Regions from separate parts of the Homo sapiens genome. Here region 1 is linked to region 2. Evidence: promoter capture Hi-C in human tissues and cell types (Jung and others, 2019). All regions are on one chromosome and are shown on one strand. Each heading gives the region's core, a stretch centred on a gene start or on the middle of the fragment in contact. The rest is flanking DNA. Distances are from core to core; before and after follow the strand shown.

Region 1 (4,406 bases), core at 1,761-4,260, 180 kb before region 2:
ATGGCCAAGCCCCTTATTCTGTCATGCCTTGAGTGAGCAACCTCCCCCCACCCTCATCCCCCTGTGGCCAATACCTCCCTCCAAAAGAGGGATGACTCGACAGACATCCATGATGCTGACCCCAACCCCCTCCCGTCCGGGCTGGAGCTGGCTCCCGCATCTTCTCTGCTGAACCAGCGTGTGCGCTCCATCTCAGCACCATGCCGCAGGCCTCCTCCCTGCCTCCCTCAAGAAGAGTCCTCCCTCTGGACTCTTTGTGCTGCCTCCTATGTTGTGCCAGTGTCCTTCCCGTCCCCCACCCAGAGTGAAGTCATCTGCCTTTCATTCCTGCCCTTTCTGCATTCTCTCCCATGCCAGTTACTGGTATATCTGCAGGGCTTCGAGGCGGCAGTGGCTCTCCCCTTCTGAAATTAAACATCGGATAATGTCACCAGCTCCAAAGCTCTTTCACTGTGTCATCCACCCAGCCTCCCGCCTCCCCAACCACCACCACTTAAATAAAAGCCAGAGAGCCCTTTTGAGCTCGATAAGGTGAAAAATGAGGACGACAGCTGTGGCTTCCACAGTCCCAGTTTTTCCCTGATGAGTATAACAAATACAACTGTCAAAGTTGGTATAATCAAACGTCAGATAAGATCACCAGCTGTTGGGGACTTCTCTGTGTAGGCAGACGGATGTCTTAATAGAGTCAGGATGGTTTGCAGAGCTTATCAGACAGGAGGGATGTGACAGCTGAATAGCCCTTTGCTGGTGAACCAAATAGCTGACCACGTACTCCCCAGAGGGGCCGGAGAAAGGACAGCAAGGGGAGAGGAAGTGATGGGAGCTGAACAGGAAAGGGAGATAAGAGGCCCGGAGAGGATCTAGTCTTGGCTTCTGCTCCAAGTTAGGGAGGCGCACCACACTGTTGGCCTCCCCCTGCAACAGTAACTATCATTTTGGGGCACCTAGCGAGGGACTGGTGAAGGAGTAGTACTGCATGGTTCACATATTTTCAAGGCTCATTTCATCTTTACCATCATCCTGTGAAGTAGGTATTCTTTTTACTCATTTACACAGATGAGGTTTACACAAAAGGGGGCCCAAGGTCACATGGTGGGGAAGGTGGGGGGGCTACCAACCAAGGTGTGTCATCAGAGCCTATGGTTTTAACCCCCTTGTTCAACTGTGGGCTTCTCTTGGGCTTCCTGAGCAGCAGGTCTTGGGGAACAGGAAACCAAGCAGCTGAGATTGCCACCCCCCCACCGCCATTGTCCCTGCATCACTTTGAGTGCAAGTTTCCCGTGACACCCTTGGAATTGGTGTGATGTGTGTCTGGTTCTGTGCTTGGAAGTGTTTGGAGTGGGATGCTCCAGGGGTGCAGTCTCCTGCCCCAGCCAGGCCAGGGGTCTCTGGGCAGAGAAGCATTTTCCTATCTCTTACCCTTCTTGCTCTCCTGGAGCCCTCCCAGCTTTGTACACATGCACAGGGGTCACTGACCTAAAAAGAACGAGGAGCGTGTAGCCCACAGCAGCCTACGGATGTGCTCACTCACAGTGGGTGGGGGTGCTGCCCTTGACTGGCCTTGGCTTGTGGTGGGAGGTCCAGCCAGTGCCTTTTACACTGCAGGAGTGTAATACAGTTTTAGGCATAACTGCCCGCTCTGACTCCAGATCCAGGCCTTACCCTGGCTGTAGGTCTGCCTCTGATGGGAGAAGCAGCTTCTTTCTGCTGCTGCCGCCCCAACGTGAGCCTCTCATGGAGAGTTGGTAGAGACAGCCCACCTTGGCTCTTGTCAGCAGGGCTGGGCCTGCACCTGGCTCTTTGGGGAGAACCTATCTTTTGGGTGTTTTGTTTGTTTGTTTGTTTGTTTCTGAGAAATAACAACTTGAGATTTAAGATCAAGGTGAACTAAACCCTTAGTGCCTGCCCTGATCACCTCCTTGCCTCACACGGCCTGAGGCCTCTGCTTCAGCCCGCACAGTAGAGCCTCCCTCTCCCTGTGCTGTGGTGGTTCTCATTCGTGGAATCCTCACCTTCACCTTCTCATTTTCAAGTATCAAAAGACCTGCCCCCCACTTTTCAAGGCCAGCACAAGTGCCAGCCCTTCTACAAGGTCTTCCCTGATCAGCTATCCAGAAATAATTTTCTGCAGCCTTCTGTTCTGCACGGCATTGGAACCGGCCAGTGTGCAGGGTATGTGTGTCCTTGGAAGGCCTGCCCCTCTGCTGGGCGCTCTGGACGGTGGGGCCCAGCATATCATCAGTCCTCAGTGTGCGCTTGCAGAATTGAACTTGGGGGATTTCCAACCTCTCCCCAGGATACCGCTACGTGATTCTGGATATCCCCCTGCTGTTTGAGACCAAGAAGTTGCTCAAGTACATGAAGCACACCGTGGTAGTATACTGGTGAGTGTGTAGCATGCCCTGGCTGGAAGGGAGGACCATGGGGGTATCTGGGAAACAGCCCACATCATTTTGCACTTTGCCCTTTCCCCACGGGGCGGCCAAGAGGCATGGGGGTTTGGGCAGCAGTGCTCAGGGTCTGTAGAAACCAACCTTTGTGCCTGACGCGGATAGTCCTGGGGGCAGGTGTGGGAAGGGACAGCCCGCGGGCTTCTCTAGTGTTTGGGGAGCGCTCCCCCGCTGACCATTGCAGGCACTTCAGCCCAGATGCCTGGCCTCGCCCTGGGCCACTGTTACTCAGTGGCTCCTTCTTCCTCCTGTAGCACCTTTATTACTTTGCACAGTTTACCTCTCAGTGGGAGGTGGTCAGGACAGGTGTTGATATTCCTATTACTGAAGATAAAATTAAAGAGGGGGCAGTTACAGAATGTGTCCAGGGTCACCCTTTGGCAACACCTGTTACGAACAGAAGGTTTCGTGGAAGGGACTGTCAGCCCAGCTAAGGAAGGCACTTTGTTCTCAGAATTCCCCAGGACACGGAGCCAACCAGAATCCAGGTTTGACAAACAGGAGGATCAACCTGTGGGGGGAAAATGAGTCCCTGTCCCAGTGGGGTGAAAGTAGATGAGTCCGCAGGGTATCTCTGCTACCCAGAAGCTTCCCGGATGCCACCCACAAGTACAGCAGACACATAGGTGGGCACTTGGCTCTGCTGGTATTTTGGGCATAGGTTGGCCCTCAAGGGCCTAAGGCATTGGAGGCTCCCAGCACGCTGGAGGCGGAGCCTGTGGTGCTCAGTGCCCTGAAAATCCCCCTGCCTTTCCCCCTGGGTCCCCATGGGCTGTCGTTGAAAGCCCAGTCTGAATCCCTTGAGCCCAATGCAGGGACGCAGGCATCCTCTCAGCTCCTGCACTGGGCCGTGCTGCCTTATGTGAGTAAACCTGCAGCCTCTTTGGGTTCTTCATTCCCTGTTTGAGAGGCTAACTAAGGTCAGGCAAACCCCACGAAGACCTGGAATTCTCTTTGCCTTAGTAGCACGATTGGAGCTTTGTATTTAGGGATAAAAACATTTTTTTTAAAGGATCTTAGAGGCCGGGTGCAGTGGCTCACGCCTGTAATCCCAGCACTTTGGGAGGCCGAGGTGGGTGGATTACCTGAGGTCAGGAGTTCGAGACCAGCCTGGCCAACATGGTGAAACCCCATCTCTACTAAAAATATAAAAACTAGCCCGGTGTTGTGGCGGGCACCTGTAATCTCAGCCGCTTGGGAGGCTGAGGCCAGAGAATCGCTTGAACCCAGGAGGTGGAAGTTGCAGTGAGCAGAGATTGCACCATTGCACTCCAGCCTGGGCGACAAGAGTGAGCAAAACTCCATCTCAAAAAAAAGGCTGGGTGCAGTGGCTCATGCCTATAATCCCAGCACTTTGGGAGGCCGAGGCAGGTGGATCACCTGAGGTCAGGAGTTCGAGAGCGGCATGACCAACATGGAGAAACCCCATCTCTACTAAAAATACAAAAATTAGCCAGGCATGGTGGTGCATGCCTGTAATCCCAGCTACTTGGGAGGCTGAGGCAGGAGAATCACTTGAACCCAGGAGGCAGAGGTTGCAATGAGCCAAGATCGTACCATTGCACTCCAGCCTGGGCAACAAGAATGAAACTCCGTCTCAAAAAAAAAAAAAAAAAGGCCGGGTGTGGTGGCTCATACCTGTAATCCCAGCACTTTGGGAGGCCGAGGTGGGCGGATCATGAGGTCAGAAGATCGCGACCATCCTGGCTAACACGGTTAAACCCTGTCTCTACTAAAAATACAAAAAAAATTAGCTGGGCATCATGGTGGGCGCCTGTAGTCCCAGCTACTCGGGAGGCTGAGACAGGAGAATGGTGTGAACCTGGGAGGCGGAGCTTGGAGTGAGCTGAGATCGCACCACTGCACTCCAGCCTGGGCGACAGAGCGAGACTCCATCTCAAAAAAAAAAAAAGGATCTTAGAGTGTAGATGAGAAGACAGCAGGGGCCGACAC
Region 2 (4,221 bases), core at 660-3,159:
TCACAGTCCTTTTTTTTTTTTTTTTTTTTTTTTGAGACAGAGTCTCACTCTGTCACCCGGGCTGGAGTGCAGTGGCGGATCTCAGCCCACTGTAGCCTCCGCCTCCCAGGTTCAAGCAATTCTCCTGCCGAAGCCTCCAGAGTAGCTGGGACTAAAGGCACCTGCCGCCACGCCCAGCTAATTTTTGTATTTTTAGTAGATATGGGGTTTCACCATGTTGGCCAGGATGGTCTCTCTCTCCAGACCTCATGATCTGCCCGCCTTGGCCTCCCAAAGTGTTGAGATTACAGGCGTGAACCACCGCGCCCAGCCAAGCACAGTCCTTTTAATTGTTGGGACTTAAAGACCTACAAACTGCATAATCGGTTTTGCCCTCATTCTGCGACCCCACAAAGCTACTCACCTAGCATGATTGCACCCACTGCACAGGCCTGCGCTGCCACTCGGGTGTGAATCAGGTGTATGGACATCTTGGTGGAACCACGAGACCTCAGCCGGTAAATCCTGTATGCTGCTACCACCAAGCAGCCTCCTAAGCCTGTGGGCAGAGAACACAGCCCCTGGGCCACAGCCACAATGCACAGCACTCCCCTGATGAGAGATACCTTACCAGGCAGGCTGGGCATCTGGATAAACAGCTGGTTTTATGCAGCATCTGGTGGCGGGGGGTGGGCGTTGCGGGGGACCTAGGGGGATCATTAGAATATTGAGTTGTTGCCGGGGCATGGTGGCTCACGCCTGTAATCCCAGCACTTTTGGGAGACTGAGGCAGGTGGATCACCTGAAGTTGGGAGTTTGAGACCAGCCTGACCAAAATGGAGAAACCCAGTCTCTACTAAAAGTACAAAATTAGCCGGGCGTGGTGGTGCATGCCTATAATCCCAACTACTCAGGAGGCTGATGCAGGAGAACCACTTGAACCCAGGAGGCAGGGGTTGTGGTGAACCGAGACTGTGCCATTGCACTCCAGCCTGGGCAACGAGTGAAACTCCATCTCAAAAATATATATATATATATTGAGTTGTTGCCCTTCAATGGCATTTTCAAAGTGGCTGCCTCCCTCCCGTGACACCCCTCCCCCATATACAAATAGCTGATCACCACCAGTGATGCCCCTCCCCCAGATACAAATAGCTGATCACCACGACACAGCCCCTCCCCACCAATTTGCTCCGCCCTGGGCCCTTGAGCCACACTGCTGGCTCCCACCTCCTGGTACAGCTGTTTTCCTACTCTACCAGGGCCATAAGGAAGGAAGCCCTGGGGGACCCCAAGGTGTTCTTCTGACCCTTCCCACTTTGGTGTTGGTGCTCCAGGTTCCTCATATCCCATGTACTCAGTTGGCTGCCACCTCCACCCATCCAGACGTCCTGATTTCATTGTAAGGGTTTGCCCCTTGGCACCTTTGCTGTTGTTTCCCTTGTTCCGTGAGTAGGACCACTTGAGTTTTCTGACCTCTGCTTCATTCTCTTTGGAGGGTACCAGGAGACATGACAGAGAAGGCCTCCTACTCGGCACCCCATTCCTTTCTTCACTTACCTATAGGCACCAGTGGAGATTCCCGAGTCTTCCTCAGGAGCTTCTCAGACACACAGTCTTCGTCGTCAGGTGGTACCCACCAGCGTCTGTTAGCAGACATAATCCTGGACCTGGATGTAAGCAGCTGAGACTCCTATGCTGCAGCCCCGTCCTAGAGAGAGGCACTCCACAATCAGAACTCTGATTCCTCAGTCTGGAGAGGAAAGGAAGGTTACCTGCTAAGACCCTCTCTCACCATGCCCCAACACAGCCTCTACTTGAAAAGATGTCCCTCCCAGGTATCCCATCTCAGGTGGCTGGGCCATTAGTGCCATTTCTCCGTCTCCATTTCCTACCATCTGCCTCTTCCCCAGCTCATTCTGTCTTCACTGCTTTCTCAGCTTCCCCTTCCCCCATCTGCATCCCTATGGGTGTGATCCTTGGGCCAAGAAAAACAGCTGGAAAAGTCCACAGATGGTGGTGGGAGAAACAGTCCTTGAGTGCTGGGGCCCCCGCTGGCCTTTGGTCTGTGATGGTTTCTCCTGTGGGAGCTACAGAGCAGGATCTGGCCCCAGGGAGCCAGAAATGTCCTAGACCAGATAGTGTAACAGCATTAGTTACCAAATTGCCAGAGATTATAATGATTGGACATTGATTTGCATGTAATTTAGCATATATTTTGCACATGAGTACTAAGGAACACATTCTGGTTCCTGAGCTGCTCCTGTTTTTCCAGGTCCATCTCTTTCCAGGCAGGTTCTTCACAATTACCAACTGGCTACCTTCATCCCTGGGCTGGAAACAAGGGTTCTGCCAATGGGATGCCTTCTTTTTGAGACGGAGTCTCGCTCTGTCGCCCAGGCCGGACTGCGGACTGCAGTGGCGCAATCTCGGCTCACTGCAAGCTCCGCTTCCCGGGTTCACGCCATTCTCCTGCCTCAGCCTCCCGAGTAGCTGGGACTACAGGCGCCCGCCACCGCGCCCGGCTAATTTTTTGTATTTTTAGTAGAGACGGGGTTTCACCTTGTTAGCCAGGATGGTCTCGATCTCCTGACCTCATGATCCACCTGCCTCGGCCTCCCAAAGTGCTGGGATTACAGGCGTGAGCCACCGCGCCCGGCCCTTTTTTGTTTTTTTGAGACGGAGTTTCGCTCTGTAGCCCAGGCTGGAGTGCAGTGGTGCCATCTCGGCTCACTGCAACCTCCGCCTCCCAGGTCCTGGTTGAAGCAATTCTGCCTCAGCCTCCCAAGTAGCTGGGATTACAGGTGTGTACCATGCCCAGCTAATTTTTTGTATTTTTTTAGTAGAGACGGGGTCTTACCCTGATAGCCAGGCTGGTCTTGAACTCCTGACCTCTTGATCCGCCCACCTCGGCTTCCCAAAGTGCAGGGATTACAGGTATGAGCCACCGTGCCCTGTCCAATGGGATACCTTCTAAGCCTAACCATACGGCAAACTCTCTTTTCTTTTTCTTCTTTTTTTTTTTTTTTAGGCAGGGTCTCACTTTGTCACTCAGGCTGGAGTGCAGTGTCAATCCCTGCAAGCTTGACCCTCCAGACTCAAGCAGTCCTTCCACCTCAGCCTCTCAAGTAGCTGGGACTACAGGTGCATGCTACCACGCTCAGCTAATTTTTGTATTTTTTGTAGAGACAGTTTTGCCATGTCGCCCAGCCAATCTTGAACTCCTGGTCTCAGGCGATCTGCCCACCTCAGCCTCCCAAAGTTCTGGGATTACAGGCATGAACCACTGTGCCTGCCCTTGAGTCAGCTTCTATCCTAGTTAGCCCTCCTCTCCTGGAGGAGCAAGGACTGGTGGCCCCCCAGGTCGTTGGCATGCTGGTGCTTACCCTAAGAGATGGCTAGAACGAGGAGAACGGGCGGCCAGGCCAGGGCTCAGCGTCTGCTGTTTTGAACCGACCAAAAGCTGAGATGGAGCTGCCACTATGGGGTCAGGGAAGCAGTGACTTGGGCTTTATGAAAACTTTGAAGTCAGGGATGGAGAGGGGAGGGGAAAGGACAGGGGATCGGTCTTAACCCCCAGTCTGCTGAGTCCCAAGCCAAAGCTCCAGGCACTGGAAAGTAAGGAAAGACCAAATGGAGGGGAGCCCCTAACTAGATTCAGTCTTTTAATTCCCATGGAATTAAGTGGCTGGATCAGAGACAGGCTTGATGAGGAGAACGGAGATGGAGATACAGGAACAAGGATGAGTAGAAAGCCTGGGTCCCCCAAGTTACACTCCCTCGGATACTCTTATGAACAATGTGGGATGTAAATAAAATACCCTAGTTGTGAGAGACAGACTCTCTAGGCTGTCTTTTGGTTTGGGATTTTTTTTTTTTTCCGAGATGGAGTCTTGCTCTGTCACCTAGGCTGGAGTGCAGTGGCACGATCTCGGCTCACTGTAACCTCCGCTCCCAGGTTCAAGTGATTCTCCTGCCTCAGCCTCCCGAGTAGCTGGGATTACAGGCATGTGCCACCATACCCAGCTAATTTTTTTATTTTTAGTAGAGGCGGGGTTTCACCATGTTGGCCGGGCTGGTCTCGAAATCCTGACCTTGTGATCCACCCGGCTCAGCCTCCCAAAGTGCTGGGATTACAAGCATGAGCCACCACACCCAGCTAGTTTTTGGGGTTTTTTGTTTTGTTTTGTTTTTGAGATGGGGTCTCCCTCTGTCACCCAGGCTGTGTGATCTTGGCTCACT

Evidence for each region. Contacts are between HindIII fragments. The study calls those that stand out against the background at their distance.
Region 1: a fragment that was not itself captured here is called in contact with the fragment with the promoter of HIGD1B in region 2 in 1 of the 25 tissues and cell types used here (heart right ventricle).

What each region holds. Positions count from the first base shown.
Region 1 is chr17:45,028,073-45,032,478 of GRCh38, reverse strand. It overlaps DCAKD (dephospho-CoA kinase domain containing), which reads left to right. Exons shown (of 5, transcript NM_001288655.2): 4 at 2,300-2,387. Among named protein-coding and RNA genes, the nearest start is that of DCAKD, 21 kb to the left of the region's middle. RefSeq lists an enhancer at 1,923-1,972. The HindIII fragment of the contact is 7,935 bases long and covers 1-4,406 here.
Region 2 is chr17:44,845,571-44,849,791 of GRCh38, reverse strand. HIGD1B (HIG1 hypoxia inducible domain family member 1B) reads right to left here and starts at 1,909. Exons shown (of 3, transcript NM_016438.4): 1 at 1,540-1,909; 2 at 404-538. The coding sequence starts at 1,639. The HindIII fragment of the contact is 5,766 bases long and covers 175-4,221 here.